7 separate regions of the Homo sapiens genome follow, and regions 1, 2, 3, 4, 5 and 7 are each linked to region 6. The links are contacts of gene promoters, found by promoter capture Hi-C in blood cells and fetal thymus (Javierre and others, 2016). All regions are on one chromosome and are shown on one strand. Each heading gives the region's core, a stretch centred on a gene start or on the middle of the fragment in contact. The rest is flanking DNA. Distances are from core to core; before and after follow the strand shown. Region 1 holds the start of GOT2 (glutamic-oxaloacetic transaminase 2). Region 2 holds the start of SPMIP8 (sperm microtubule inner protein 8). Region 3 overlaps GOT2 (glutamic-oxaloacetic transaminase 2). Region 4 overlaps LOC107984867 (a long non-coding RNA gene). Region 5 overlaps ZNF319 (zinc finger protein 319). Region 6 holds the start of GINS3 (GINS complex subunit 3). Region 7 has its middle 9.2 kb from the start of SLC38A7.

Evidence for each region. The method cuts DNA at HindIII sites, captures the fragments that hold promoters and counts their contacts. A CHiCAGO score of 5 or more calls a contact.
Region 1: a contact is called between the fragment with the promoter of GOT2 here and the fragment with the promoter of GINS3 in region 6, in 4 of 17 cell types (activated CD4 T cells, naive CD4 T cells, total CD4 T cells and 1 more). The highest score is 6.7, in activated CD4 T cells.
Region 2: a contact is called between the fragment with the promoter of SPMIP8 here and the fragment with the promoter of GINS3 in region 6, in 5 of 17 cell types (M2 macrophages, erythroblasts, megakaryocytes and 2 more). The highest score is 9.9, in M2 macrophages.
Region 3: a contact is called between a fragment that was not itself captured here and the fragment with the promoter of GINS3 in region 6, in 6 of 17 cell types (naive CD8 T cells, activated CD4 T cells, naive CD4 T cells and 3 more). The highest score is 6.7, in naive CD8 T cells.
Region 4: a contact is called between a fragment that was not itself captured here and the fragment with the promoter of GINS3 in region 6, in 3 of 17 cell types (activated CD4 T cells, total CD4 T cells and non-activated CD4 T cells). The highest score is 7.9, in activated CD4 T cells.
Region 5: a contact is called between a fragment that was not itself captured here and the fragment with the promoter of GINS3 in region 6, in 2 of 17 cell types (non-activated CD4 T cells and activated CD4 T cells). The highest score is 6.3, in non-activated CD4 T cells.
Region 7: a fragment that was not itself captured here is called in contact with the fragment with the promoter of GINS3 in region 6 in 9 of 17 cell types (activated CD4 T cells, naive CD4 T cells, non-activated CD4 T cells and 6 more); the score reaches 10.4 in activated CD4 T cells.

Annotation. Positions count from the first base shown.
Region 1 is chr16:58,732,993-58,735,740 of GRCh38, forward strand. It overlaps GOT2 (glutamic-oxaloacetic transaminase 2), which reads right to left and starts at 1,324. Exons shown (of 10, transcript NM_002080.4): 1 at 1,148-1,324. The coding sequence starts at 1,236. RefSeq lists silencers at 649-738, 839-928 and enhancers at 1,051-1,669, 1,369-1,448. The HindIII fragment of the contact is 10,522 bases long and covers 1-2,748 here.
Region 2 is chr16:57,975,132-57,978,094 of GRCh38, forward strand. It overlaps SPMIP8 (sperm microtubule inner protein 8), which reads left to right and starts at 1,413. Exons shown (of 8, transcript NM_199456.3): 1 at 1,413-1,503; 2 at 2,684-2,908. The coding sequence starts at 2,686. The HindIII fragment of the contact is 9,202 bases long and covers 1-2,963 here.
Region 3 is chr16:58,716,746-58,719,629 of GRCh38, forward strand. It overlaps GOT2 (glutamic-oxaloacetic transaminase 2), which reads right to left. Exons shown (of 10, transcript NM_002080.4): 4 at 2,451-2,510; 5 at 1,782-1,943; 6 at 1,451-1,555; 7 at 1-68. Among named protein-coding and RNA genes, the nearest start is that of GOT2, 16 kb to the right of the region's middle. RefSeq lists an enhancer at 1,310-2,509. The HindIII fragment of the contact is 2,345 bases long and covers 91-2,435 here.
Region 4 is chr16:58,765,428-58,768,127 of GRCh38, forward strand. All of the region lies in intron 2 of LOC107984867 (a long non-coding RNA gene), which reads left to right. Among named protein-coding and RNA genes, the nearest start is that of GOT2, 32 kb to the left of the region's middle. The HindIII fragment of the contact is 1,697 bases long and covers 425-2,121 here.
Region 5 is chr16:57,991,819-57,994,834 of GRCh38, forward strand. It overlaps ZNF319 (zinc finger protein 319), which reads right to left. Exons shown (of 2, transcript NM_020807.3): 2 at 2,858-3,016. Among named protein-coding and RNA genes, the nearest start is that of ZNF319, 7.3 kb to the right of the region's middle. The HindIII fragment of the contact is 8,196 bases long and covers 1-3,016 here.
Region 6 is chr16:58,391,023-58,393,823 of GRCh38, forward strand. GINS3 (GINS complex subunit 3) reads left to right here and starts at 1,449. Exons shown (of 3, transcript NM_022770.4): 1 at 1,449-1,765. The coding sequence starts at 1,580. RefSeq lists enhancers at 1,088-1,665, 1,272-1,761, 1,666-2,242. The HindIII fragment of the contact is 2,062 bases long and covers 217-2,278 here.
Region 7 is chr16:58,692,579-58,695,409 of GRCh38, forward strand. No RefSeq gene overlaps it. Among named protein-coding and RNA genes, the nearest start is that of SLC38A7, 9.2 kb to the left of the region's middle. The HindIII fragment of the contact is 6,848 bases long and covers 1-2,831 here.

The DNA.
Region 1 (2,748 bases), core at 74-2,573, 340 kb after region 6:
GTGGGGCCTTGGAAAGGACAGATAGTTCTGCTGGCTGAAAGACACAGAGCATACATTCAAACGAAAGGCCAAGCTACGCTTTGCTCCTTGCAGTTAATACCTGCTTGGGGGTGGTTTTAAAACTCAGTTCCTTATTAAGGTAGTGCTTAAGGAGAGTGCTCCAAATCGGCTTCTTGAGTTGAATTAATCTTCTGGCTCCGGTCTCCACTGGGAATGAATTACTAGAGCTCGTTTCAAGCTCTGAAATTTCCCTCCATACTATTATACACGCCACAGTACGAAATTACGTTTGTCATTTTTTGAGCAATGACCATTTGTCATTGTCCTTCCCTCGCCTTGTTCACAGTTGTATCGTTGGCATCTGGTCCAGAGCCTGGCTCTGAGAAACTGCAGTTACGAAATATTTACTGAATGAAAGAGCACAGGGAGATGGAGAGGAAGATTGATAGCCTCCCTGCAACCGGACCTCCTTAGGGGCAATAAGGAAAAAACAAAACAAAACAAAAAAAGAGACACACTACACCTCGACCCTTTCCCAAGCAAAGGCCAAACGGGCCCCGGGGTCACAGGGACCTCGGGGGGTCGCAAGGTCAGGAGAATGCCGCACGCCAAGGTCGCAGGTGCGGGAAGGAAAGCGAGGCCCGAATGCCGGCGCCCCGGAAACCTTCCTCTCGCGCTCTTCCCGCCCAGGGCACACACGCGGCAGCCAGCCGCCGCCGGCCCACCGACTCGGGCGGGCCGGGGGCCAGGACAGGTGCGCCCGCCGCCCCCAGGGCACCCTATCAAGGGCACGGTCGTTACCCGGCGCCGCTGCCCCAGTACTATCCGCACCCCTCCCACTGAATGGGAGTCCGGCAACCGCCGAGGGCCACACTTCCTTTCCCTAGGGATTGCGTTGCACGCCTTCCTGCAGGGCCCAGTGCGGGGACCAGAGGGATGTGGGATCCTGAGGATCACTGTGGGGCACGGACGCTCAATCCTCAGTCCCCAGTAAGGGAAAGCCGAGGGGGTGGCAGAAAAGTGTGTGTGTGTGCGTGTGAGTGACAGTGTGTATTTGGGGGCCGGGAGGGGTGAATGTCCTGGGGTGCTCGCAGCTCGGCGGGGCAGGGCCATCGCCCTGGCTCCATCTCCGTTTCCCTTGGCTTACCTGGCTCTGGCAGAGGCCGCGGCGGCGAGGCCCGGGTGGAAGGCGGCGGCGATCCCGGGGAGGACGCGGCCGGAGTGCAGCAGGGCCATGGTGGACCGTAGGAGGGCAGTGGGCAGCCGCAGGACGGAGCAGAGGGCGAGCGGACACACACACAGGGAACCGGCTCCTGCTGAAGGTAAGGACAGGGACTTCCCTGGGCCAGAGCGGCCGCGTGCTGGGCCCGAGCCACGTCACAGCGATCCCTGGCGGCCGGCGGGCGGAGCGGCGTGGGCTCAGCGGAGGTCGTGGAAGAGGATGACTGCACAGTTTACCTACGCCCAGCCCTTGCTGCGCTTCATTCATTTAATCCAGCTGGGCCAGGCCTGGCCGGCCGAAGAGGTGGCTGCTGTTATGGCAGTTTGAAAGATGAGAAAATGTAGGCTGACATAGTTGACGTATTTTGTCTGATGCCTTACAGCCATTAGGACCCAAGGTGGCCTTACTTTCAACCCTAATAGTTTCCCTAAGCACAAGTCATGTCACGTCGTTCCTGAATGTTTCCTTATCCCCCACCCTTTTTTTTTTTTTTTTTTTTTTGAGATGGAGTTTCACTCTGTCACCCAGGCTGGAGTGCAGTGGCGTGATTTCGGCTCACTACAACCTCTGCCTCCCAGGTTCAAGCGATTCTCCTGCCTCAGCTCCCCGAGTAGCTGGGTTACAGGTGCCACCACCACGCCCGGCTAATTTTTGTATTTTTAGTAGAGACGGGGGTTTCACCATGTTGACCAGTCTGGTCTCAAACTCCTGATCTCAAGTGATCTGCCCGTCTCAGTCTCCCAAGACTGCTAGGATTACAGGCATGAGCCACCGCACCTGGCTTCCTTATCCCTTTTATGGAGAGGGTCGCATGTGTATTTTGTGGGGCAGTTGTGAGGATTAATAAGATTAGCAGATTATGTCTAAAACAGGGCCTGATTTAGTAAGCACAAAATAACCCATGGTCATTAATGACAAACTCGTGTATGTCAAATCCTGATAACTGTTTGTGGAAGGAAATGAATCGGTTTTGAAGGAAATGAATCGGTTTTAAAGGAAAAAGCAAATGAATTTCAGACACATCCACAAGTCAAACGAGTCTTTCTCATGTGTAGTCTATTTCTCTGATACTCGTCTCTTAAACCAAGGTAGGGGCCCGGTGTGTTGGCTTATGCCTGTAAACCCAACACTTTGGTAGACTGAGGCAGGAGGATAGCATGAAAACAAGAGTCTGAGACCAGCCTGGGTAACAAGATGAAACCCCCATCTCTTAAAAAAATAAAAAAAAATTAGCAGGATGTGGTGTTGCGTGCCTGTTCCAGCTACTCAGAAGGCTGAGGAGGGAGGATTGCTTGAGCCCATTAATTCAAGAGTGCAGGCCGGGCGCGGTGGCTCACGCCTGTAATCCCAGCACTTTGGGAGGCCGAGGCAGGCGGATCACGAGGTCAGGAGATCGAGTCCATCCTGGCTAACCCTCTCTCTACTAAAAAAATACAAAAAAAAAGTAGCCGGGCATAGTGGCGGGCGCCTGTAGTCCCAGCTACTCGGGAGGCTGAGGCAGGAGAATGGCATGAACCCGGGAGGCG
Region 2 (2,963 bases), core at 163-2,662, 420 kb before region 6:
ACCTCCGCCTCCCAGGTTCAAGCGATTCTCCTGCCTCAGCGTCCTGAGTAGCTGGGATTACAGGCTTGCACCACCACGCCCAGCTAATTTTTGTGTTTTCAGTAGAGACAGGTTTTCACCATGTTGGCCAGGCTGGTCTCAAACTCCCAACCTCAAGTGATCTGCTCACCTCAGCCTCCCAAAGTGCTGGGATTACAGGTGTGAGCCATCGTGCCTCACAATATACTTTCATTTCTCTTGGGAAGCCTCCTGGGGTAGAATCTTCCAGATGACCCAATCATATGGTACATTTCTGTTTCATTTTTTAAGAAACTGATAAACTGTTTTAAAAGTAGTACTCCATGTCTTGACCAGGGTGGGTGGTAGTTATACGGGGTCTCATTTTGTAAATTATTAGTTACATTAGATATTTATTCACTTTCTGTATTTCTTCTATTTTATAACTTTAAAAGAGTCAAGAAATAAATTGGGGGTGGGGTGGTGAGTGGAGTCAACTCTGGGAAGGTTTTTTGTAAGGGGTAGCAGTTAGGAATGCTGTTCTGGAAGCTGTATGGAGCACTGGAGGAGGAGCAACTGGGGAAACAAATCCTACAAGAATTTCACAGGAGGGGCTCCAAGACCCATCAGGTTCAGCCCCTGGGCAGGTATATGCAAAAGCACATGCCAATATATGCAAATAAGTTAGGATCTCCTGGGGTTTCCTCACCTTGGGGGTCTGTCTCTAATGGTTGTGACCAGGATGGTGGGCAGGCCCCAGGGCTTTGGGGTGCTGGCCTTGGGCACTCACAGCCTGGCTTTTCTGGGAGCCTGCAGTCCTGCAGGGGCTGAGGGTGGAGTATCATCTGCTAATCCCTGGCCTGCTGAGTCCACCACTCTCCCTGATCCCCTCACGCTTACCCTGGATACTGGCCACAGCTAATCTCCACTCCTGGAGACTCAAGGGCTGGCAGACAGTGCAGTGCCCTCTTCCCTGAGGGTTCCAGGGAGGGGAGATCCCTCTCAGCATCCAGATCCTCCTAACGGCAGATCCTAGAGTCCTTGCCTAACACAGAGGAGAGCCTTGAGTCCCAGAGAGAGGCGGTAATTAGCCCAGGATTACACAGCCTGCAGTGGGCTCAGTAGCCATTTCTGGCCTGCCTTGGCCTGACTACCTCCAGGGAACCCCAGCTCCCCATCTGACATTTCCCAAGATGCCTGGCCTGTGCTAAGGCCTGGGAGACCACAGCCTTCAGGAAGGCTGGAAGGGAGTGGCCAGAGCACAGGAATTCTGGCACAGGCTCTTGTTAGAGCCTGTAGTTGCCAGGGTTGCTAAGGAGTGGGTGCCTCAGAATCAGGCTGCAATGGGCATTGTCTGTGCACAATGTTCCTTTATTCTGCTGCTGTCCATAATAAGGGCTCGTCCACCTCCCTTCCTCTTCTGCCCATTGAGCAGTCAAAGAACTGAAAGTCCTTATAAGCCTGTGCACCTGGGCCTGGGCCCTACAGATAAGGTAGCTGCTATTGGTGAGTCAGAAGCAGGGAGCCCTTGCTCTCTTCCCCATATCCGTGATCCCCCTCCCTGTCCCTCCCCAGGCAGTCACATCCCCTAAGGCAGCTTCCCCATGCCTTGTCACCATGCCCCCTCCCTGCTCCTCCATGATCTAAGGTCCTCTCTCCTCCTGCCACCCTAGCTTCCACCTCCACCTCTCACCTCTAACTCAGGGTCAGGAAGAAAGCAAGCTGTCTCAACAAATTCTCACTAAAGTGTAAATGACTGAAAGGCTCCTGGGACTATCTGCTTTTTAAAGGGAGGCACTGGGTATCCAGTAATGCTTTTCTAGTTTAAATATATCATGTTGCTCCCCTTCCTGAAAATCTTTCTGAGTCAATCTGTAGAATTTTGGGTAAATAGCTAGGGCAAGTCCATAATTATTCACCCAGAGGTATACGGCATACTAAGCTACATTCTGAACCCGCTTGCTGCTGCACTTTCCTGCTTATTATTTAAGAATAGACTCGCCAGGCAAGGTGGCTCACACCTGTAATCCCAGCACTTTGAGAGGCTGAGGCGGGTGGATCACTTGAGGTCAGGAGTTCGAGACCAGCCTGGCCAACACAGTGAAACCCCGTCTCTACTAAAAATACAAAAACTAGTCACATGTGGTGGTGGATGCCTATAATCCCAGTTCCTCAGGAGGCTGAGGCAGGAGAATCACTTGAACCCAGGAGACAGAGGTTGCATTGAGCCAAGATGGCGCCACTGTACTTCAGTCTGAGCAGAAGAGTGAGACTGTCTCAAAAAAAAAAAAAAAAAGAAAAGAAAGAAAGAAAAAAAAACGAATAGACTCAAATACCACCTCTTTTAGACCATTCCTTGAATGTCCTAACCCCAGCCTCCCCAGAAACACACACTCTGTACTGACCTCCCTCACAGCCATGGCACAATGTGAGTGTGTGTGTGTGTGTGTGTGTGTGTATGTGTGTGTTGGAAGGGGAGTGGGAGGGTTGTCTCTGTTATCTTCTGTTATCTGAATGTTCCTGCCACCTCATGCTGAGCTCCAGAAAAATGGCCTGGCACACAGTAGGTGCTAAATAAATGTTTGGCAAGTAGACATCGGCACTGGCCAAGGTTGTTTTCATGCAGAGAAGGGTGTCTGGCCAGCATGAGCCCAGGGTGAGCCCCTTAGAACCCTCTGCCCCCCAGCTATGGCCCGCATCATTGACCTGGTGCCCTGGGACGATGGCTCCACACATGTGTATGCCTCCCCGGCCATCCTGCTTCCCATGGAGCGGCAGCGCAACCAGCTGGCGGGCGTGAAGCAGCAGCTCTACCACCCAGCCCTGCCCACCCTGCGCCACATGGACAGGGACACCGTCAAGGCCTGCCTTCCTGATGAGCACTGCCAGTCCACCACCTACTGCCGCAAAGGTTAGGACACCAGTGTAGGATCCCCTTTGGGGAAGGGGCAGATGGTTTCAGGAAA
Region 3 (2,884 bases), core at 13-2,512, 330 kb after region 6:
TCCTTATCACCATCACCACTGGCAAAGCCTTGGTAGGCCATGTCAAAGAACGCAAAGAGATTCCTTTTCTGAGAAGGAACGAAAGATCGAAGCTTTAGCAGTCTTTCTGAAGAGGCCCCAGATGTTTATAAAAGTCTGAAAGATGTTTATGTGAGGTGGGCATGGTCCCAATAAGCACAATAAGCCTTTTCTGGGGCTAACGTAATCCTGGAAGACTCAACTTATACCCAGGACTCACGAGACAACATCATTAGAACCATTTTATCTTGAAAGTGCTCTCCAAATGCTGTTTCTGTCTCATTCTGTTTGCAGCTTAGATTTGACAGAAGTTAAAGAAAGGGAAACTGGCCAGGCATGGTGGCCCATGTCTATAATCCCAGCACTTTGGGAGGCCAAGGTGGGAGGATCACTTGAGCCCAGGAGTTTGAGATCAGCCTGGGCAACAAAGTGAGATGCTGTCTCTGTGAAAAATAGGAAGAATTAGCCAGGCAGGTGTGGCACACATGTCTGTAGTCCCAGCTACTCAGGGGCTGAGGTAGGAGGATTGTTTGAGCCCTGGAGGTAGAGGCTGCTGTGAGCTGTGACTGTGCCACTGCGTTCTGGCTTAAGGCGACAGAGTGAGACTCTGTCTCAAAAGAAAAAAAAAGAGAGAGAGAGAAAAGAAAGGGAAATGAAAAGGAGTGAAAAGGGAAAACAGGGACATGAGACAACAGGAATAACATTTTCCTCCCTAGGAATTTTGACTAGTGTCTTCTCTGACAGCTGGCTACACTTTGAGAGTGATCATGGCAATGCTGCAAAGGAGAGGACATGAAAAAGTGTTTAAAAAGATCAATAAGCAACCACTGACCAGGGCGAATATAGGCATCAACAGCAGACATCCTGGGGCCAGTGGACAGGTTTTATCAGAGTTCCCTACATCCAGGATGAGGAAAAAAATTATTTTCTTTTTTTCTTTTTTAGAGACAGAGTTTTGCTCTTGTTGCCCAGGCTGGAGTGCAGTGGCACAATCTCGGCTCACCACAATCTCCACCTCCTGGGTTCAAGTGATTCTCCTGCCTCAGCCTCCCAAGTAGCTAGGATTACAGGCATGGGCCACTACGCCCAGCTAATTTTGTAGTTTTAGTAGAGACGGGGTTTCACCATGTTGGCCAGGCTGGTCTCGAACTGACCTCAGGTGATCCACCTGCCTCGACCTCCCAAAGTGCTGGGATTACAGGCGTGAGCCACCGCGCCCAGCCAAAAAAAATTACTTTCAAATACTCATGCGTCATCAATCCCAGAACTGCTAATCACGCAAATGGGGAGCCCTTTTCTGGCAGCTTATCCACCTGTGTGGACATTTCACGCAGGTTCGAGGTTAAGACTCTCTGTTGAGACATTGCCAAATTAAGCCTCCAAAGCTGGTTACTAAACACAGAACTGTCGCCAGTGAGTTCATCGTCCTCACCTTCACCACTGTTGCTATTTCCTTCCACTGTTCCGGACGCGGGTCCACTCCCGTGGGATTGTGGGCGCAGGCATGCAGAAGAAGAACACTCTGCTCTGGTATTTTCTAAAGAGAAAAACAGCCAAGAGACGACTTTGCAGCTTTAAAGGAAATGGTTTATCTGAAATGCCACAGGATCGTCATCATTTGATAAGTAACAAAGGTAACCAGAACCCTGGGAATCAGCTCTTCCCCAGTATTTTAACTCAGATATTGGGACATGGTGGGAGACATCAAATGTCCGCAAGCAAGGAGTTTTATTCACCTCTCTCACCCTGAAAGCCACACTTACTGAAATATCCTCCACAGCGCCTGTGAAGTCAAAACCGCAAGTCTTGGGGTCATAATACCGATAACCTTGTAGCTGCATGCCAGCATCCCTGAAGATGGGTGTGTGGTTTCCCCAGGTTGGTTTGGGCAGAAAGACATCTCGGCTGAACTTAAAAAATCTTTGCTAAAAGATGGGACGAAAGGAAACAGAAAAATGAACAAAGGAGAGGCAAAAAAATGTTGATGTGTTTTATTGAGAGAACATTTTTCTCTGCTGAAACCCAGTTTCTCTCTATGGTTGAGAAGCAGTATTGACTCAGCAGTAAGACTGCCTGGGTTGGAATAGTCTCTGACAGTTATACTGGCCATGTAGCCAAGGACCTTTCTGGGTCTTGCTTTCTTCACTTGTAAAGGGGGTTAATTGTACCTCTCTCATAGGGATTAAACAAGTTAAAATGCAAAAGCTCCCTAGTAAATAGTAAGTTCCTAGTGAACTGAATTTATCATCATCACTAATATATCTTTCCTGTAATTTCTTCAAAGTCCTTTCATTTTTTCATGAGAATAGGACATCTGCAAACTTCACGGAAAGAAGAAATCTACTTCTGCATCAACAGTCAAATACACACACAACAGGAAGCCCTGTCATCTGGAATTTATAATTCTTTCCTGAAGAAGCTTCCAGACTCACCAGAAAACTGGCTCCGATCCTTAAGGCTCCAGTTCCAGAAATGGTCTGCACAGTGACAAACTGAAGGAGAGATACCCACGGTCAGTGATGTGCAACACTCTCTATACAGGCCCAGACCCAGGGCCACTGCTTTGTCCAGGACCTTTCATACTTCAGAAGCTCATTCTTTATGGCCTGTCAGTATCATTTCATGTTACACGGGAAACTTTCAGAACACAAAAATTCCTCCTCAATATGAAAAAGGGGTGAATTATATAAAAGATATAAAAAGACACTGAGAGGCTGGGTGCGGTGGCTCATGCCTGTAATCCCAGAACTTTAGGAGGCCAAGGCGGGTGGATCACCTGAGGTCAGGAGTTCGAGACCAGCCTGGCCAACATGGCGAGACCCTGTCTCTACTAAAACAAAAATTAGCTGGGCATGGTGGCGCATGC
Region 4 (2,700 bases), core at 23-2,522, 370 kb after region 6:
TTTTTTTTCTGAGACAGGGTCTAACTGTGTCACCCAAGCACTGGAGTGCAGTGGTGTGAACATGGCTCACTGCAGCCTCGACCTCCTGGGCTCAAGTGATCTGCTTGCCTCAGCCTTCTGAGTAGCTGGGACCACAGGCTCATGCCACTATGTACAGCTACTTTCTACATTTTTTATAGAGATGGGGTCTCATTTTGTTGCCCAGGCTGGTTAAGAACTCCTGGGCACAAGTGATCCTCCCATCTCGGCCTTCAAATGTGCTGTGATGACAGGTGTGAGCCACTGTGCCCAGTGTTCTATTAATTTTTGAGAGAGAGAGAGAGATACTGAAATTTCCAAGTATAATTGTAGATTTATCTATTTTTATGGACCACATTTTGAGTTGCAAGAATCTGGGTATTCCCTGCTTCTTACTTCTCTGGGAAGCTTTTTCTAACCTCTCAGCTCACCCTAGAATGAAGTACACTCTACTTTTGCAATCAGAGCATTTAACAGTGTTTAATTACCTGTTCATTATTCTGTCCCCGCACTAGATCATTATGTCTTAGATAACAGTGATGGGGTTTTGTTACATTCATATATGAAGGACTTGAGAAATATATATATATTTTAATCGAGACGGAGTCTCGCTCTGTCACTAAGGCTGGAGTGCAGTGGTGTAGTCTTGGCTCATTGCAGCCTCTGCCTCCTGGGTTCAAGCAATTCTCCTGCCTCAGCCTCCCGAGTAGTTGGGATTACAGGCATACGCCACCATGCCAGGCTAATTTTTGTACTTTTAGTAGAAACAGGGTTTCATCATGTTGGTGAGGCTGGTCTTGAAATCCTGTAGTCAAGTGATCCGCCCACCTTGGCCTCCCAAAATGCTGGGATTACAGGTGTAAGCCATCATGCCCGGCCAACTTGAGAAATATTTGATGATATAAGAAAGATATTTAGGACTCAGTAAATGAACATATGGCATAACTAAAATCAGAAATCAGAATTCAGTGGAGTTAGGGAATTGCTGAAAGGAGTGGCAATGAGAATATAAAGATCTTAGAACTGAACAAAAATTATTGGGGAGGGCATGACTTTTCACATGATGCAAAACGGAGAGTGAAAGCTGAAGAGAACATCTGTTATTGTTTTTGTTTCTTTTTTCTTTCTTTCTTTTTTTTAAACATAGTCTTGCTCTGTCACCTAGGCTGGAGTACAGTGGTATGATCTTGGCTCACTGCAACCGCTGCCTCCTAGGCTCAAGTGATTCTCCTGCCTCAGCCTCCCAAGTAGCTGGGATTACAGGTGCCCACCACCATGCCTGGCTAATTTTTTTTTTTTTTTTGAGACGGAGTCTGGCTCTGTTGTCCAGGCTGGAGTGCAATGGCGTGATCTCGGCTCACTGCAACCTCCGCTTCCTGGGTTCAAGTGATTCTCCTGCCTCAGCCTCCCGAGTAGCTGGGACTACAGGCACGTGCCACCACGCCCAGCTAATTTTTTTGTACTTTTAGTAGAGACGGGGTTTCACCACATTGGTCAGGCTGGTCTTGAACTCCTGACCTCATGATCCGCCTGCCTCGGCCTCCCAAAGTGCTGGGATTACAGGCGTGAGCCACTGCACCCAGACAATTTTTTGTATTTTTAGTAGAGACGGGGTTTTGCCATGTTGGCCAGGCTGGTTCAAACTCCTGACCTCGGGTGATCCACCCACCTCAGCCTCCCAAAGTGTTGGGATTACAGGCGTGAACCACCATGCCCGGCCTGTTATTGGGTTTGATTAGCATTTACTCAAATTAAGAGGTTCATATTGCTGATCCTTTTTGTTTCCCTTCCTTCCAAAGGATCCAGGTAAAATGTTGACCAACATGCAGGAAGTGGGCATCAGTCAAGAGCTCATGTGAACATCCAGGGATCACAGAGATTACAAGGGTCTATCCTGGGTTTTGTGGCCCAGCTGTAGGGAATGAGGGATTTACTTTGTTTACAGTAACCAGAAGTAGGAAATTAACGGGAAAATTAGGCATTATGGTTGGTGAAGAGAACCACTGGTGTACAGTAATAGTCTGAGGACACATGCCAGATTCTAAATGGAAAAGAGGTGAAAAAAAAAAAAAGAAAAAGCAAGAGGGGGATGGTTCAGGATGAAGCTTGAGAATGAGAGAAAGCTGCCAGAGATGCCTTCATTTTAGTCTTGTGATGTGGGGATGGGGCAACAGGCTTAACGGGACAGGGCTGGGCTCTGCTAGACCAGGTATAATCTTTAGAAGTGGTACATTCAGTGTCATTCTGCAATAGTGACAGAATGAAGCTCTTTCAATGCTTGAAGACCCAACTTACAGAGCCAAGACAGATGGTGAGCAGCAATCACTGAATGAATGTATAGAAAAATGTAAACTTCACAGAGCATTTTATCTCCCATCTGTTTCCCTCTGCAATTTCAACCTGGTACCATAAATCCAAATTCTGTACTTTCCCTCTTCAGGCTACCCATGTTGCCTCTGTCTTCGAAGGTTGCAGGCAGCAGAGCTGTTTTGGAAGTGACCTATTTGCCCAAGATGTTGAGTTTAGAGTTTTTAAAGGGGGTCCCCTTGCTTATGTTGTCAGACTGTATTAATGTATTCCTACACTGGGATTTGATTTTGCATATACAGTATCTTCATAAAGAGACCAAAATAGTTCATTCAGTAGCTTTGTGTTCAAATGCTCTGCCTTAGCTACTCACAG
Region 5 (3,016 bases), core at 385-2,884, 400 kb before region 6:
ACCTCTTAAGCATCTGCCTCGCCCCCTTATAGGTATGGAGTGAGGCTCAGACCTGCTGGCGGATGGGAAAAGGTTTCTGAACGGTGCATGGCAGGCCGGTGGGAGGGCTGACTCTCAGATGGGAGGGCTGGGCTGGCTCGCTCTTGCCTCTGACCTCCCAGCGCTACAGTCCTTCTGGGTGGCTACTATATGCCAAACATGTCACACAGATCATTCCACTGTGCCCTTACCCTAAACCTCAGAAGAGAGCATTATTGACTCCATTCCACAGATGAGGACATTGAGGCTCAGAGAGCTTCAATGGAACCAATGAGTGGAGACGTGGGACTCTAGCCAGGGCTGCCTGTGGTGCTCTGAACCAGGACACCGCACTCAGTCTACTACGGTTCACGAGTACAGGTTCCACCCCCAGAAAGCGGCATCCTCTCCCCCGTCCCCTGCAGGGCCAAGCATAGAGCAGAGCCAGTGCATGGTGGGAGTTTGGAAAAGCTGTCAGGATGATGGGCTTCCTAGGAACATCCCCTTTGGTGGCCCAGCCTGCCCTGGCACCAGCTTCTAGGACCCAGGAGAATGGCCCCCTCCCCTTCCCACCCCTGGTGTCTCTTTCACTAGCCAGGGGGAATGACTACCTCCCAAAGGCAAGGCTGTGTCAGTCTCTCCCTCCTCCTTCCTTCTTCTTCCCAGCCCTAGCCCTCATCCAGATGTCACCCTCATCCTAAAGCACCACACTTCCCATCCTCCCAGTGGTTGAGCCAAAAGGAATGATTAGCCAGAGGCTGAAGATATAACATTAGTTTATACTCCTAGTCACGACATCTGAAGCTCCCCTTTAAGATGCTGTGCTTGGCTGGGTGCAGTGGCCTGTAATCCCAGCACTTTGGGAGGCTGAGGCGGGTGGATCACTTGAGGTCAGGAGTTCAAGACCAGCCCAGCCAACATGGTGAAAACCTGTCTCTACTAAAAATACAAAAATCAGCCAGGCATGGTGGCATGTACCTGTAGTTCCAGCTACTCAGGAGGCTGAGACAGGAGAATCACTTGACCCTGGGAGGCGGAGGTTGAAGTGAGCTGAGATCGTGCCACTGCACTCCAGCCTGGGTGACAGAGTGAGACACGGTCTCAAACAAGCAAACAAAAAAATGCTATGCTGTAAGTGAAGGAGACACTCATCAGGTTTGGGACACAGGAAATTGGCCATCCTGTAGGTCAGCATTCCTGGGCCGGTTGGTGGGAGAAGTACCTGTATGACCAGGTGCAGTGAGCAGCTGCTTAAGCCGGTTTGTGCTGTTTCTGCCACTTACAACCAAGAGAGGCTAGTCGGAGATACCAGAGGGGAGCAGGCTGGAGGCCAGGAGGGGCAGGGAAGGGAAAATGGGCCATGGGTTGATCCTGGCGCCTTCCCAGAATCAGAGCACCAGGCCTGCTTCAGATGGGGAACTGAGGCCTGAGAGGGGCAGACAGAGGCCTTAGGCCATGTGTTACCAAAGGGCCTGGCCCTGAACCCGAACATCTGGGCTCCCAGACCAGGGACCCATTGGCTGCCCTGGTTTAGGCCCAGGCTGGAGCCTAGAGGCTGAGGGCCTGGTGGGAGGTGTAGGAACCCCACTGCTTTGTGAGGCAGGTAGGGGTAGGGACAAAGGAAGAAGCCACTGCAGGCTCCATGTGAGCTCAGCCATGTCCAGTCAGGGCCCCTCCTGCCCTGGCCCATGCATGCTGTCACCCACTTACAAGGGACAACCTGCGGCAGTAATTATAAAGCCTCACACACACGCTAGCACTTTCCAGGGGCCTCTCAGGATGGGTGGGTTTTGCCTAGGTCACATGGCGAGAAAGCAAGCTGGGACTTGAGCCTGGCACGGAACCAAGGCCCCGGGCATCCTCTTCCTGGGAGGTAGAAGCCTGTGGGAAGGAACCACATGGTTTCTCAAGGGCAGGTTCCTCCCGTGACCACCCAGAGGGAGGAAGAAGAGCATGGGGACTGGGTCACATCTCGGTCCCCTGGCCTTTCGCACCTTCTGTACCCAGCTTTCGGGCCACCTGCAGTGTGGGCAGCTCCTTGTCCTTTTAACTCAGGGCAAGGTGCCCCTGCTGACCACTTTCACTGGCTCTCAGGTGCCCGGGCCTGGGAGGCTGTTTTTCCCTCTCTCTCCCCTACCTCTATCCCCACCTTTGAGCAACAGACAGAGCCTGAGTTGCAGCTGGGCCACGGGGGCAGGGACGGGGTGCAGGAGGAAAGGTGTGCTGGAGGGGCTCAGGTGGGAGGCAGCTGGGCTGACCATGCAGAAGGGTCACTGTGTGACAGGGTGGGTGGTTGTGGGGTGACAGCAAGTCCTCCCCCTCCTCTGGGGCAGGGCCGGGCTGGCTGCATCTGCTGCTGCTGCAGGCAGGCCCTTGGTTTTCCACTGGGGCTGCGCAAGCTCTCATGCTCACCAGGCCCAGTGCCTGGCTTCCAGGCTTCCATGAGCTGCTGCTCTCTCACAGGTCAGCTCCCACTTCGGGGGCTGTGGTTAAAGCCAATGGAAGTGAGGAGGTCTCAGGCTCATTCCTGAAAATCCCAGGTGTCCTGGAGTTGGTACTGTCAGCATCTTCAAACATCCCCACCAGGGACTTTCTATAGGGCTCTATTTAATTCTCACAACAACCAAGCAAGGCAAGGTGAACCTCCCCATTTTACAGATGAGGCAACTGAGTCCCAAAGAGGTTCCCAAGGCCACACAGCCAGAACGTTCAAAGCTCAGGATTCAAACCCAGCCCTATGCCCCAGTCTCCAAGCCGCCACTCAGGCCTGTGCCCCTCTCTGCCTCTCCATGTCCATCGTTCCCCTGTGGAAGAAGGAGCAGAACAAGCAGTGCAGTGGTCTGTGACGGTCAATGTCTTTACTTCTAAAGCATACATTGGACTCACTATATATTAACATCAAAAGTGGCTACCTAAAATGGAGTCATTCTTTTTAAAAATCCAAATCCTCACATTTTTATATAAGATCCAAAATGACATGAAATTAAACTCTACAATG
Region 6 (2,801 bases), core at 199-2,698:
AATTTCATTTATAAAGGTGACTGGGTGATGACAATCAATGAGTTAGTGGCCAATGCCTTTGAAAATTTTATTATAGTTCTCAAGAGAAGGGGCTGTGCCTACGGCCACACGAGAAAGTATTAGGGTCAATGAGGAGGTAGAGAGAGCGAGGAGAAAGCCCAGAGCCTTTATTGCCGTGGGAAGGAATGGGCGAAGCAGGGAAGGGAAGTCTGAACAAGCTTAGGATTGAATAATTTGAATAATGTTGGCAAGCTCTGGGATATAGAGGTGAATTTTAGTTGTCTGGTACTTGGCCATGGGGTGGTTTATTACAGTGACTTGGGGCAGGGAAAATATTGGTGTGTGAGATGGATAAAGATGGTGTGGGGATATAGGCTTGGGTTGGTTGGTTTGTAAATGAAAGGGGTGTTCACAAGCAAGTTGTTTGCTATCTCTAGGAATTAGCTAACTCTGAAAGGGGCAATTCCTCCCCAGGTCCCCAAGGCCCCAAGATGTCAAAGCATCATAAAATACAGAAAACAGAAACTAAAATCCATGGTTAATACACACCTCCCTTCACACACACCCTTTACTCCCGGCTCCAGTAGCCCCAGAAATGCTCTAGACGAAGTAAGTTCTGTAGTGCATCTCTCAACAATATGCCGCCACCCATAGCCCTGGCTGAGGAGAGCCACCAAACCTGGTACTATGCGACCATGGTCCTTCCCCTGGTCACTGGATAGTGATCGCACCCAACACAGGCACCCCCATCTACAGGGTGGCTGGAGATCTATGACCATTGTGGCGTACCTGGACCAATCAATAAACTGGACCAATTGGATTTCCATTTTTAGGGATTTAAATTCAGAGCCACAAAAGGAGATTGTCAGTTGATGATGAGCTAAGACACCCTGAAGTATACTCACAACCTTAGCAAGCCATGTGCAGTCTAGTGCTCCACCCCTCTACCCACCCCGTCCAACCCCCACCAAAATACTAACAAAATACAACACACTAGTTCATCATCTAGACCATAATAACTCGCTGGGGATAGTGCTGGAAGTTTTTGTTTGTTTAACATTTCTTTCAAATACTAAGATTAACGGAGTTGCATAGTGAAAAAAACTGTAGGAAAGGGTCGGACTTAGGCCTGGAGTGAAGGGCACAAGATGCTTTTATTTTAAACCCCTAAAAGTGTTGCAAAGTGTTTTTAATTTCATATAAATAGTTAAGGATCACATGAACACAATCCAGTACAAATGGGTCCAGGAGCTTCAACGAGCGTTCCAGCTTCTTCGTAACGTTCCCACACCGTGCAGCAAGCGGAGGGAAGAGAACTTCCGGCGCCCCCACCTACCGCTCCCCAGCCGTGTCCCGCTGCTCTAAATCTGCAGACTTGATCGATTGCTTCTGCCTGGGCGGTACCGCCCGAATTGACTGCTCCTGTCTGATGCGTCCCCGGGCGCGGGAAACGAGTTTCAATCCACTTTCCTGACCCCAACCATCCTGCCCAGTCTCCGCTTCCCCGTCTTGTACACCCCTAACTCCTGAGGCTCCTCCGAATCACGCGAGTGGAAGCGGAGAAGCTCAAGTGGCCGCCATGTCAGAGGCTTATTTCCGAGTGGAGTCGGGTGCGCTGGGGCCTGAGGAGAACTTTCTTTCTTTGGACGACATCCTGATGTCCCACGAGAAGCTGCCGGTGCGCACGGAGACCGCCATGCCTCGCCTTGGCGCTTTCTTCCTGGAGCGGAGCGCAGGCGCCGAGACTGACAACGCGGTCCCACAGGTGAGCCTTTGGGTGCGGGGTCCTGCCCGGAAAGACTGCAGCTCCCGGCGGGCCCCTCGGCCCTGGGACGCCGCATCGGGGCGCGCTGCCCTTTGGGATTTGTAGTTTTCGAGGAGCCAGGGCCGAAGGCGCTAACGACTTCTCGGAAACTCCGCGGGGGTCCCTTCGCGCTCGGGGTGGTCTCCAGACTTCTTGTTCGCCATCTGTGGTGAAACTACATTTATCCTAGGTCGCCAGGCAGCCTCCAACATTGATTTCTTTTTTGAAACTGTCCAAATTAGTGTCTTCCCCCTACCCCATGCAACGTGTGTTGAATGCTTAAAGATTGGCTCCAGCTGAATACTTAAGAATTAGAGTTCTGATCATGTTTGCCTTAAAACAGCTTTGGGTTCTGTAAGAGCATGTGATAAGTAGGAACCCCAAGTTGCTAAATTCATTCCTCCATAATGATGACAGGATCAGTAAGCCCTACTGAGGCTTACTTAGTGGCAGCATGGTTGGGTGTGGGGAGTAAGCTTTTCCCTTTAATCCTTCAGCAACCAGAAAGGCTGGGTCACTTGGCCAGGGCTTCAGTTAGTGGTGAGCTGGGATTCGGAACCCAAGGCCATATGGCTTCAAATATAAAATTGTCCCAGGAACATGGCTTGTAATGATTAATTTGGATATCCTGTTTCACCTAAGTTTTGTATAGAACGATGTTTATTGTTTGGTCTGTTTGTTTCAAGTTAATTTTTATCAAAGTAATACATAACCAACGTTTTAAAAGTCAAATAGGCCGGATGCGGTGGCTCACGCCTGTAATCCCAGCACTTTGGGAGGCTGAGGCGGGCGGATCACGAGGTCAAGAGATCCAGACCATCCTGGCCAACATGGTGAAACCCCATCTCTACTAGAAAGCTGGGTGTGGTGGCCGGCGCCTGTAATCTCAGCTACTCTGGAGGCTGAGGCAGGAGAATTTCTTGAACCCAGGAGGCAGAGGTTGCAGTGAGCCGAGACTGTGCCACTGCACTCCAGCCTGGCGACAGAGTGAGACTCC
Region 7 (2,831 bases), core at 151-2,650, 300 kb after region 6:
AAAATAAAAATAAAAATAAGTGTTCCACCTTCTGCCATGGGATGACTCAGCATGAAGGCCCTCACCAGATGGCAGCACCATGCTCTTGGACTTCCCAGTCTCTAGAACCATGAGCCAAATAAACTTCTATTGCTTATAAATTCTCCAGTCTGTGGTATTCTGTTACAGCAACTCAAAATGGACTAAGACATTTACTATATACAGTTTTGAGTGATTTTCTTAGTGGTTGCCCTGTGGATTATAATTAATGTTAGTACAACAATCTAGTTAGAATTAATACCAATTTAATTCACTTGGTTCCAAATCTTTGCTTCTATATCCTTTTGTTCTCTTCCCCTATATGTTACTTCAGTATGACAAGAGTTTATATACATTATAAACCCATCAACATAGTTTTACTGTTAAATTAAAAAAATTCTTTTTCTGACAGAGGGTCTCACTCTGTCATGCAGGCTGGAGTGCAGTGGCACAATGCTGACTCACTGCAACCTCTGTCTCCCGGGTTCAAGCTATTCTCCCACCTCAGCCTCCTGAGTAGCTGGGACTACAGGCATGCATTACCACTAAAAATACCTAATTTTTGTATTTTTAGTAGAGACAGGGTTTCACCATGTTGGCCAGGCTGCTCTCAAACTCCTGACCTCAAATTATCTGCCCACCTTGGCCTCCCAAAGTGCTGGGATTACAGGCATGAGCCACTGAGCTTGGCTCCATCAACATAGTTTTATAATTCTTACTTTATGCAGTTGCCTTTTAAATGAGAGAGCATGGCCAGGTGTGATGGCTCATGCCTGTCATCCCAGCACTTTGAGAGGTGGATATGAGTGGATCACTTAAGCCCAGGAGTTTGAGATCAGCCAGGGCAACAAGGTGAAACCCCATCTCTACCAAAAAAAAAAAAAAAAATTAGCTGGGTATGGGGGTGTGCACCTGTAGTCCCAGCTACTGGAGAGGCTGAGGCGGGAGAACTGCTGAGCCTCGGAGGCAGAGGTTGTAGTGAGCTGAGGTTGCACCACTGTACTCCAGCCTGGGGGACAGAGCAAGACTGTGTTTTAAAAAATAAAAAATAAGTAGGGAACACAAGAAAAGTGTTATACACAAAAAAATGCATTTGTACTACTTTTAATATTTACTATGTAGTTACTTTTACTGGTGCTCTTTATTTCTTCATTCAAATTACTGTCTAGTGTCCTGTTATTTCAGCCTTAAGGATTTCCTTGAATATTTCTTATAGGACAGATCTGCTAGCAACAATTTTCTCTGTTTTCATCTGGGAATGTCTTAATTTCTCTGTTTTTGAAGGATAGTTTTGCTGGATGCAGAATTCTTAATTTATGGTCTTTTTCTTTGAGCACTTTGCATGTGTCTCCTCACTGCCTCCGGCCTCCATGGTTTCTGATGAGAAACCAGTTGTTAAGCTCACTGAGGAGCCCGGTATGTGTTCCTTCTCTTGCTGCTTTCAAATTTCTCTCTTTGACTTTGGATAGTTTATGATGTTTCTAGGTATGGATCTCTTTAAGATTATCTTAGGCCGGGCGCGGTGGCTCACGCCTATAATCCCAGCACTTTGGGAGGCCAAGGTGGGCGGATCACGAGGTCAGGAGATCGAGACCATCCTGGCTAACATGGTGAAACCCCGTCTCTACTAAAAATACAAAAAATTAGCTGGGCGTGGTGGCGGGCGCCTGTAGTCCCAGCTACTCGGGAGGCTGAGGCAGGAGAATGGCGTGAACCTGGGAGGCGGAGCTTGCAGTGAGCCGAGATTGCGCCACTGCACTCCAGCCTGGGCAACAAAGTGAGACTCCGTCTCAAGGAAAAAAAAAAAGATAAAAAAAGATTATCTTAGAGTTTCTTGGATGTGTAGATAATGTTTTTCTCAACTTTGGAAAGTTTTCCATCATTATTTCTTCAAATATTCTTTCTGCTCCCTTCTCGCTCTCTTGAGACAGCCATTATGTATATGTTGGTATGCCTGATGGTGTCTCACAGGTCTCTGAAATTCTGTTCATTTTTCTTCATTCTTTTTTTTTGAGACAGTCTGGTTCAGTCACCGAGGCCGGAGTGCAGTGTTGTGATCTTGGCTTACTGCAACCTCCCTCTCCTGGGTTCAAGTGATTCTCATGTCTCAGCCTCCTGAGTAGCTGGGATTACAGGCACATGCCACCATGCTCGACTAATTTCCATATTTTTAGTAGAGACGGGGTTTCACCTTGTTGGCCAGGCTGGTGTGGAACTCCTGGCTTCAAGTGATCTGCCCTCCTCAGCCTCCCAAAGTGCTGGGATTACAGGTACAGCCAGCCCTCATTTTTCTTCATTTTTTTTCTTTCTCTTCCATAGGCCGGATAATCTCAATTGATGTATCCTCATGTTCAGTGATTCTTCTGTCAGCACAAATTTACTATTGAGCCCTTGTATTAAATTTTTAATTTCAGTTATTACTGTACTTTTTAACTCCAGAATTTCTATTTGGGTCTTTTTAATAATATCTATTCATTGATAGTCTCTATATGACAGGACGCTGTTCTCATACTTTTCTGTAGTTGTTCAGACATAATTTCCTTTCACTCTTTGCCTATGTGATTCCAAGTCTTTGTCTAGTAAGTCTAATGCCTGGGCTTGGGCTTCCTCAGGGACAGTTTCTATTGACTGCTTTTTTCCCTATGTATGGACCATACTTTCCCATTTCTTTACATTTTTCATAATGTTTTTGAAGACTAGACATTGAAAAATAATATAATATGGAAATCCAAAAATTGGAGTTTGTTGCTGCTACCTTTTCTGTAGTGACCTTCCTGGACTAATTCTTTAAAGTCTGTATTCTTTGCTGTGTG